Linked DNA regions of Homo sapiens: region 2 is linked to region 1. The links are contacts of gene promoters, found by promoter capture Hi-C in human tissues and cell types (Jung and others, 2019). All regions are on one chromosome and are shown on one strand. Each heading gives the region's core, a stretch centred on a gene start or on the middle of the fragment in contact. The rest is flanking DNA. Distances are from core to core; before and after follow the strand shown. Region 1 holds the start of ZBTB8B (zinc finger and BTB domain containing 8B). Region 2 has its middle 54 kb from the start of PUM1.

Region 1 (4,847 bases), core at 1,939-4,438:
CCCAGCTCAGGCTGATGGAGCCTGGGGACAACATTGGAGCCCCAACTCAAGCAGTGCCAGAAGCCAATTAAGTTCCTTTTTGGTTTAGCTGGTCTGAGTTGGGTTTTCTTTTTTAAATATTATTATTATTATTTTTTGAGATGGGGGATGGGGTCTCACTCTGTCACCCAGGCTGCAGTGCAGTGGTGTGATCTCGGCCCACTCTGACCTCCGCCTCCCTGGCTAAAGTAATCATCCTACCTCAGCCTCCCGAGTAGCTGGGACTACAGGTACCCACCCCCACGCCAGGCTAATTTTTTTTGTACTTTTGGTAGAGACAGGGTTTTGCCATGTTGCCCAGGCTGGTCTCGAACTCCTGGCCTCAAGTGATCTGCCCCCCTCAGCCTCCTAAAGTGCTGGGGTTACAGGTGTGAGACACCACACCTGGCCTCTGAGTTGGGTTTTCTATTTCATGCAACTGGGAGACTCCTAACTGACTGATTCCACTACCCTTGGTTAACTCCTGTTTATTATTTATGTCCTGGCCCTTCTCTGTCAATGAACTACAAGCCCTTTGAAAGCATGAGCCATGTCTTATTCAATTTTATATCCCTTACAGTATCTGGCAGAGTGCTTTGGACAAAATAGATTTGTTAAGCAAAAAAGGAATATTCATTTCTTAACTGCTTAGTAGATAAACTATAAACCAAGTTTAAAATCCACTTGGGGCCGGGTGTGGTGGCTCACACTTGTAATCCCAGCACTTTGGGAGGCCAAGGTGGGTAGATCACCTGGGGTCAGGAGTTCGAGACCAGCCTGGCCAACGTAGTGAAACCCCGTCTCTACTAAAAATACAAAAAAATTAGCTGGGCATGGTGGCGGGCACCTGTAATCCCAGCTACTCGGGAGGCTGAGGCAGGAGAATCACTTGAACCCAGGAGGCGGTGGAGGCGGAGGCTGCAGTGAGCAGAGATTGTGCCACTGCACTCCAGCCTGGGCGATAGTGCGAGACTCCATCTCAAAAAAAAAAAAAAAAACAAGTGTGTGGAGGGACTTTCGCCTTTCATTTTAAACCTTTCTGATAGAATGTTTTACTATGTGCATGTATTGCTTTTCTTTTCTTTTGAGACGGGGTCTTACTTTGTTACCCAGGCTGGAGTGCAGTCCATGATCACAGTTCACTGCCGCCTCGACCTCCCAGGCTCAAGCAATCCTCCTACCTCAGCCTCCCAAGTAGCTGTGACTACAGGCATGCAGCACCACACTCAGCTAATTCTGAAAACATTTTTTTGTAGAGATGGGGTCTCACTATGTTGCCCTGGCTGGTCTCAATGGTCTTGAACTCCTGGACTCAAGTGATCCTTCTGCCTTGGCTTTTTTCTTTGTTAACTAAGAAAAAAAGGAGGCAGGGCAGAGGGGTAAGGAGTTGGTAAGCCAGGTAGATAAATATGTAAGTACGCACAACACTTCTTAACTTGTAGTATGGTCTGATCTATAGGGGCTCTTCCCAGGGCACTTCCGTCTTTCACTGGAAAAGCCTCCTTTCCAGAAATAGCACCTAAAACCAATTTCTTTTGGCTTTCTTACTGAAATTATTTTTTATTCTATTGCAATTATTTTTATTCTACTTCCTGACGTTGCAAAAGTCTATCCGTATAGTATTTTCTTCAAAATTTTCCCCAATCCTGTACTTGGTATATATTGTGTAAATATTTATTTATATCACCCCCATTTGCCTGAAGTGCTCTGCTGCCCCGGGAAGTGCTGAGGATCACCACTTATCCCAGAAGAGCAGCTCTTAGGGCAGACTGCTCTCAGAAGCACATTTATCCGCACTCTGGCAGGGAACCTCCCAACCATCCCACGGTTCCAACTCAATTCAACGGTTACCGGCTACATACAATGCCTGACACAAGGAAGATGCCAGGAATAGAAAAATGAACCAAGTATAGTGCCTGTCCTCCAGGAGACAGCAGATGCCAACACAACTACCTGCAATACAAACTCTCATATACCCTTGAGGGAGTCCTAGCCAGATCACACAACTGTCTCTGTTCAGAGGCCAAAAGCAGCCTTGAATTCCACCTCCGACCCTTTCTGACAAGACTCCTCCAGTCCCACCAACCTGAGAATAACAAAAACCTGCTCCTCAATTTTAGTAAATATTAAGCACTATTCCTTATAAAACACTGTACAAAGTACAAGCATATTCATTTTACTTTTTAAATTAAAATTTTTAAAAGGCACGGTCTTGCTCGGTTGCCCAGGTTGGAGTGCACGATCCTACCTCAATGCAGCCTGGAACTCCTGGGCTCAAGAGATCCTCCCAACCTTAGCTTCCCGAGTAGCAGGGACTACAGGTGCGCGCCACCATGCCTGGCTTTTACAAGCACATTAGTTTTCACCTCACAATAATCCAGTACGACAGATACTCTAACTACATCCTCTTTTTCAGAGGAGGAACTGAGATTCAAAGATGCAGATAACATCACCAAGTTAGTAATAGAACAGAGATCCGACTGACTCCCGGGTTGACATCCTTAACCACTATGCTAACCGGCCTCCTCAAACCCTCCAGGACACGATGCGACAGGTTGGGGAAGTCACTCCTTTCTTTTAGGCATGGATCGGAGGAGAAGGACACTGGAGAAGTTTCCATTTCCATACGAAGAATTTCAGGGTCAACTGCATCTAAACTGCTCGCAAGACAGACCCTCCCCCGTCCAGCATCAGACGACCTGCAGAGAGGCCACCAGAACCAGCTACAGGGCACGGCCCCCGAGGGTGGGACCCCAAGGCCTAGCCCCTCCCATGGCCTCCCGCGGACAAAGTGGCCATCGCTGCCGCTGGCACTTCTCCAGTGTGGCCGAGCCCCCCACGCCTGGGCACCATTCACCGTGGAAGTAGTCGGCGCCGCGACCCCCGGCTGGACGACGCGGAGGACACCCAATGACAGGGAAGCTGGGGCCCCACGGCCGCGCCTGCCCCTCCCCACGCTAGAAGGGCTCGCGGGGCGGAGGTCCCAGGAGTTGCCAGGGCCAAGCGGTCCGAAGGAGGATGACTGAGTGGGGGCAACCCTGCCCGCTAACCCCAATCTCCAGCCAGCCTCCCGGGTGCTAGGAATCCTCCCCAAACCAACGAAAGCGGCAGCGCCAACCCGCTTCTTCGCGCTCACCTTCCAGCGGGTTCCAGCAGCGCAGCCACGGAGCACCGCGCACCGACACGCCCCCCTTTCATTCACCTGGCGCCCTCCGATGAGAGGCGGGGCGGCTGGCCAATCGCGGGAGCGCCTGGCCTCGGGAAGGCGGGCCCTTCGGCCAGCAGGGTGGTCAATGGCGCTGGTGCCCCTCGGAGGATGCGCTCTGAAGGCGCTGGTGCTCGCAGGGTGATGGGAGTTGTGGTCTCAGCGCTGGCTTTTCGGGTAAAGATAGAGTGGACAAAACTACAAGTACCAAGATGCCAAAAGGGGCGAGGACCAGTGCTAGCGAAAGGCTGCAGCTCGGTTCGGTCTTTTGAGTCCCACTTGAGGGACCTGCCAAGTACCGGTCTCTTTGTCTGGAGAGCGAAAAGCACGTCGTGGGTATTAATGCAGTCCAGGGAATAAGAGCTTTGACTCATCAGTCCGCACATATTTCACCTACTGGCGCTTTCCGCAAAAATCTGGAAATAAGGGAAATGGTTTAATCGATTCAACAGGTTTTTATTGCATACCCGCGGTTTCTTTCACTGGGTAGTCGTTACAAAAGATAAAAGATTCAGCTCTTCCCTTGACAGGCTCTCCGGTTCATACATACTAGTGAAACGGTTAAATGGCAGTACTAGGTGCTAAGTGACCGTACAGGCGTGTTCTTGTCAGCTGTGAGCAAGACAAGGCAGCTTACCGCTCTCAGGGAGCTTAGTTCTCATGGGGGTGTATTCGTTTGCTAGGGCTGCTGTACCTAAGTATCACCAACCCGGTGGCGTCAATAACAGATCTTATTGTCTGACAATCCTGGGGGCATCTGAAAGCAAGATGTTGGCAGGGTTCTTTCCTTCTGAGCGCTGTGAGGAAACGGTCTCTTCCAGGCTTCTCTCCTGGGCTTGCATATGGCCATCTTCATGTTCACAGGGCATATTCCCTGTATATGTCTCCATGTCAAAATGTCTCCTTTTGGTTGCAGTGAGTCGAGATCGCGCCACTGCACTCCAGCCTGGGGCGACAGAGAGAGACTCCGTCTCCAAAAAAAAAGTATTTTTATAAGGATACCAGTCATATTGGATTAGGGGTTCACTCTATGCCAGTATGACTTTTTTTTTTTTTTTTTTTTTTTTTTTGAGACGGAGTCTCAGACTCTGTTGCCCAGGCTGGAGTGGTGGCGGGTGGATCACCTGAGGTCAGGAGTCCGAGACCAGCCTGGCCAACATGGTGAAACCCCATCTCTACTAAAAATACAAAAATTAGCCGGGCGTGGGCCAGTAATCCCAGCTACTTGGGAGGCTGAGGCAGGAGAATGCTTGAACCAAAGAGATTGCAGTGAGTGGAGATCTGGCCACTGCACTCCAGCCTGGGCAGCAGAGCAAGACTCTGTCTCAAAAAAAAAAAAAAAAAAAAAAAAGGCTACCCCCTTCGCTGAGAGACCCTAATGAGGAGTAGTGAGCCATGCTAAGATAAAACAGAAAACCGGTTGGTACATATCTAAGAAACAGGAGAATGCCATTGGGTTGAGGAAGTGGATGGCAGGTAGACCAGCTTAATGGACGTGCAACCCACGCAGTGGCACAGGCCCGCACACTCAGAAAGGGCTGGTGCTTCCAGGTGAGGTTTTATACTTAACAAAACAAAACAAAAAAAGAGCCAGGTGCGGTGGCTTACACCTGTAATCCCAGCA
Region 2 (4,970 bases), core at 618-3,117, 1.3 Mb after region 1:
CTTCTGTAACCCACACCGTTCTCAAGATAAAAACACCTCCACTGCCCTGGGAAGTCACTCCCTGCCCTTCTCTGTTCATCTCCCACACCCCCATCCCAGTACAATAAGCCACAGGAAGAGTTTGGTGTCCTGAATTTTTTCTGTTTTTTTTTGGTTAGTTTATTTTTATTTTTATTTCTTTTGAGACGGAGTCTCACTCTGTCCAGCAGGCTGGAGTGCACTGGCATGATCTCAGTTCACTGGAACCTCCATCTCCCAGGTTCAAGCAATTAATTCTTGTGCCTCAGCCTCCCGAGTAGCTGGGAGTACAGGCATGCACCATCACGCCTGGCCAGTTTTTGTATTTTAGTAGAGACAAGCTTTCACCTTGTTGCCCAGGCTGGTCTCGAACTCCTGACCTCCAACAATCCAGCCACCTTAGCCTCCCAAAGTGCTGAGATTACAGGCATGAGCTATTGTACCTGGCCACATTATGATTTTTTTTTTTTTTTTTGAGACAGAGTTCTGCTCAGTTGCCCAGGCTGGAGTGCAGTGGCATGATCTCAGCTCACTGCAACCTCCGCCTCCCAGGTTCAAGCAATTCTCCTGTCTCAGCCTCCCCGAGTATCTGGGATTACAGGTGCCTGCCCCCATGCCTAGCTAATTTTTTTTTTTTTTGTATTTTTAGTAGTGACAGGGTTTCACCACCTTGGCCAGGCTAGTGTCAAACTCCTGACCTCAAGTGATCTGCCCGCCTCGGCCTCCCAAATTGCTGGGATTACAGGCATGAGCCACTGTGCCCAGCCCGCATTATGATTTTTAATCTTTGTTTTATATTGTAAGCAATTGTTCATGGTAATACACAGAAGGAAGCCATATTGACTGACTGTCAAGTACTTTGTGAATATTATCTCATTTATTTCTCACAACAACTTTCTCAGGTATCATTATCCCAGTTTTACAGATGAGGCAGCTGAGACCCAGAAAGGTGGAGCTGCTTAGCTAGGCAGCATGGGCCTTATATGGTGGGGCTATTATTAGGAACCAAGCCTGTGCAATTCCCCAGTTCCTGCCCCCACCCTGTCCACACTGCCTCAATAAAAACCCTTATGAGTGACAGTCTTTGAAATACCAGGGTCCTGTGCAGGTGGGACACAGGCAAGACTTGATCTAGAAGGTGTCAGAACCCTGGGTCTGTACGTCCTTGGGAAGGGCCTTGAGTTGACCGTAATGTGCTGGAGTCTGCGCACCTCAGCTCCTGAGCGCTGACTGCTTAATTTTCAGGTTGATGTCAAGTTGGTAGCTTGAAATCGGCCACAGTGAAAGACTTCACACCAAGGAAATTGACACATGCTACAAACCAGGGCTGCCTTTGTACCCCAGAGAGCTGGTTGTTAAACACGTACCAGCACGCCACTGGGGATACGCACCATGCTGACTATGGTTTTCTGAGTGGAATCATCCACAATCTGATAAGCCTTCCTACATGGTTGAGTGAAATGGCACAGGAGCCTAGGGTCTGATCTGAGTTTGGGAGCCCACCGGGCATGCAACTGTGAGCATGGTGCTCCTACTCTGGAGTTTCAGGTTGGTTTTCTGCAATGAAAAGAAGAACAGCCAAGGCACATGGAGTGAGGGTCCTAATAGCGTGTCTGGCCCCAGCTTTCTGCTTCTCCCAGGCTATAGGGTGGAGTTAGAGAAGGGCAGGACCAGGCAGGTTTTAATAGTCTCTTAGCCATTAATAATGAAGAAAGCTGCCTGGAGAGACAGATCTTAATTTTGGTTTGGCAAGAGAAGCTGCTATTTAAAAGTTACTGGTTGTTTTTCAGCCTGGAAGGACACGGAAAGTCACTTGGAGGCTGAGCTGTCCAGGGCTGCTTTGCTCCCAATCTCTCTCTCTCTCTCTGTGTGTGTGTGTGTGTGTGTGTGTGTGTGTGTGTGTGTGTGTGTGTGAAAGTATCCTTTGCACACTGACAGAAGCTGCCTCTCTAAACTGGTGTCTATGAAGACAGGAGCAAGGAAAAAAATTTGCCTTCTTTTTTTTTTATCAGACAGGATCTCACTCTGTTGCCCAGGCTGGAGTACAGTGGTGTGATCTCTGATCACTGCAAACTCCACTTCCGGGGCTCAAGTGATCCTCCCATGTCAGCCTCCCCAGTAGCTGAAACTACAGGCATGTGCCACCATACCCAGCTAATTTTTTTTTTTTTTGAGACTGAGTCATGCTCTGTCACCCAAGCTAGAGTGCAGTGGCGTGATCTTGGCTCACTTCAACCTCCGCTTCCCAGGTTCAAGTAATTCTCCTGCCTCAGTCTCCCAAGTAGTGGAGACTATTTGCATGCACCACCACACCCAGCTAAATGTTTTTGTATTTTTAGTAGAGATGGGGTTTCACCATGTTGGCCAGGCTGGTCTCGAACTCTTGACTTCAGGTGATCTGCCCAACTCAGTCTCCCAAAATGCTGGGATTACAGGTGTGAGGCACTGCGCCTGGCCCTCTGGCTAATTTTTATATTTTTTGTAGAGACAGGATCTCACCATGCTGGCTAAGCTGGTCTTTTTTTTTTTTTTTTTTTTTTTTGAGATGGAGTCTCGCTCTGTCTATCGCCCAGGCTGGAGTGCAGTGGTGCAATCTAGGCTCACTGCAACCTCCGCCTCCCGGGTTCAAGTGATTCTACTGCCTCGGCCTCCCGATTAGCTGGGATTACAGGTGCCCGCCACCATGCCCGGTTAATTTTTGTATTTTTAGTAGAGACAGGGGTTTCGCCGTGTTGGCCAGTCTGGTCTGGAACTCCTGAACTCAGGTGATCTGCCCGCCCTGGCCTCCCAAAGTGCTCGGATTACAGGTGTGAGCCACCTTGCCCAGCCCAAGCTGGCCTTAAACTACTGGATTTAAGCAATCTGTCCGCCTCAGTCTCCCAAAGTGCTGGGATTACAGGCATGAGCCACTGAACCCACCCAAAATTTGCATTCTAGGAATAATCAGCTGGAGATGCTAACCCCTTCCCTTTGAAGGTCTGTGTGGTTCGACTATCTGTGAAGCCCTACAATGCCTTTTCTCTTTCTATTCTCTCTGGTATTCCTAGTAGATCTTATCCCTCCTTCTGAATGTATTTATCCCTTATCTTTCCTTTCAGATTCGAAATTAATTTGAAAAAAAATAGAAAATATAGGTAAACAAAATTAAGGCGGGCAAAGCAGGCATTATGAGAGATGACCACTCCAAATTCACAAGCACATATACCACCATGAACTCCTTGCCCATATCCATTCAGGCTGCCTTTCAGTTATATACAAATATGGATGTAGAAGAGGACTTACTGAAGATGTGCTGTATGTAGCCTGTTATTTTCCCTTGACAATGTATATCTTAGACACATTCAGGTTATAAATATACATGGGGAGAGATCATCATGAATAAATAAATATAAAATATATCAAGGGATGATAACTGCCATAAAAGATAGTAAAGCAGGCTTAGGGGTAGGAAGTGATCAGAAAGACAATCTTAGATACATTTGCTCTGATCAGGTGACATTTGAGCAGTGATTTGAATCATGTGAATCACTGGAAGAATATTCTTGGCAGAAGTGAAGGGCTGGAGGTGAGTATGTGATGATGTGCTTTGTGGATTAGGGGTTAAGCACAGAAGGGACAGTTTTCGAAGGTCACTGTGGCTGCTGAGTGGAGAATAGACTATAGGTGGGCAATGGTGAAAATGGTTAAGAGCCAAATTAAATAATTGGGAGAGAGATGAGGGCGGCTTGCCCTAGGGTGTTGACTGTGGAGGTACCAGATATACATGTATGTGTGTGTGTGTGTGTGTGTGTGTGTGTGTGTGTGTGTATAGATAGATACATACATATTACACATATATATTATGTATTATACTTACATATTATGCACACATACATTTTTTATAACATACATATACATGCATACATATACATACATAAGCATACATATATTTTATATACATATAAAAATATACATTATATATGTATATACATATAAAAATATACATTATATATGTATATACATATATAATGTATGTTATACATGTTATATATAATATAAAATACATGTATATAATATATAAATACAATAGATGTATGTTTATGTATATATGTATAATATATGTATGCATCTATAATATGTCTTATACCTCCACAGTCACCACCCTAGTGCAAGCCACCTCATCTCTCTCCTGGATTATTTAATTTGGCTCTTAACTATTTTCACTTTTGCTCACCTACATACATACATACATATTTATATATATTATATATAAATATATATAATATATAATATATAATATATATATTATATAATATATATATTATATTATATTTAATATATATATATATTTTTTGAGACAGAGTCTCACTCTGTCACCCAGGCTGGAGTGCAGTGGCACGATCTCGGCTCACTGCAACCTCTGCCTCCTGGGTTCAAGCGATTCTCCTGCCTCAGTCTCCCAGGTAGATGGGATCCAGGCACCCGCCACCACGCCAAGCTAATTTTTGTATTTTTAGTAGAGATGGGGTTTCACCAAGTTGGCCAGATTGGTCTCGAACTCCTGACCTCAGGTGATCTACCTGCCTTGGCCTCCCAAAGTGCTGGGATTACAGGTGTGCACCACAGTACCTGGCCTTATATTATATATATTTATACTTTATATATATTATATATATTTTAATATATATAATATATATATGTTTAATATATGTATGTATATATATTTTTTGAGATGGAGTCTCGCTCTGTCTCGCCCCAGGCTGGAGTGCAGTGGCACGATCTCAGCGCACTGCAGCCTGTGCCTCCTGGGTTCAAGCGATTCTCCTGTCTCAGCCTCCTGAGTAGCTGGGAATATAGGCGTGCCTAGGTAATTTTTGTATTTTTAGTAGAGACAGGGTTTCATCATGTTGGCTAGGCTGGTTTCAAACTGCTGACCTCAGGTGATCTATCCACCTCAGCTTCCCAAAGTGCTG

The links. Contacts are between HindIII fragments. The study calls those that stand out against the background at their distance.
Region 2: a fragment that was not itself captured here is called in contact with the fragment with the promoter of ZBTB8B in region 1 in 1 of the 25 tissues and cell types used here (spleen).

What each region holds. Positions count from the first base shown.
Region 1 is chr1:32,463,413-32,468,259 of GRCh38, reverse strand. ZBTB8B (zinc finger and BTB domain containing 8B) reads right to left here and starts at 3,188. Exons shown (of 4, transcript NM_001145720.2): 1 at 3,155-3,188. The HindIII fragment of the contact is 24,686 bases long and covers 1-4,847 here.
Region 2 is chr1:31,117,040-31,122,009 of GRCh38, reverse strand. No RefSeq gene overlaps it. Among named protein-coding and RNA genes, the nearest start is that of PUM1, 54 kb to the right of the region's middle. The HindIII fragment of the contact is 4,386 bases long and covers 1-4,060 here.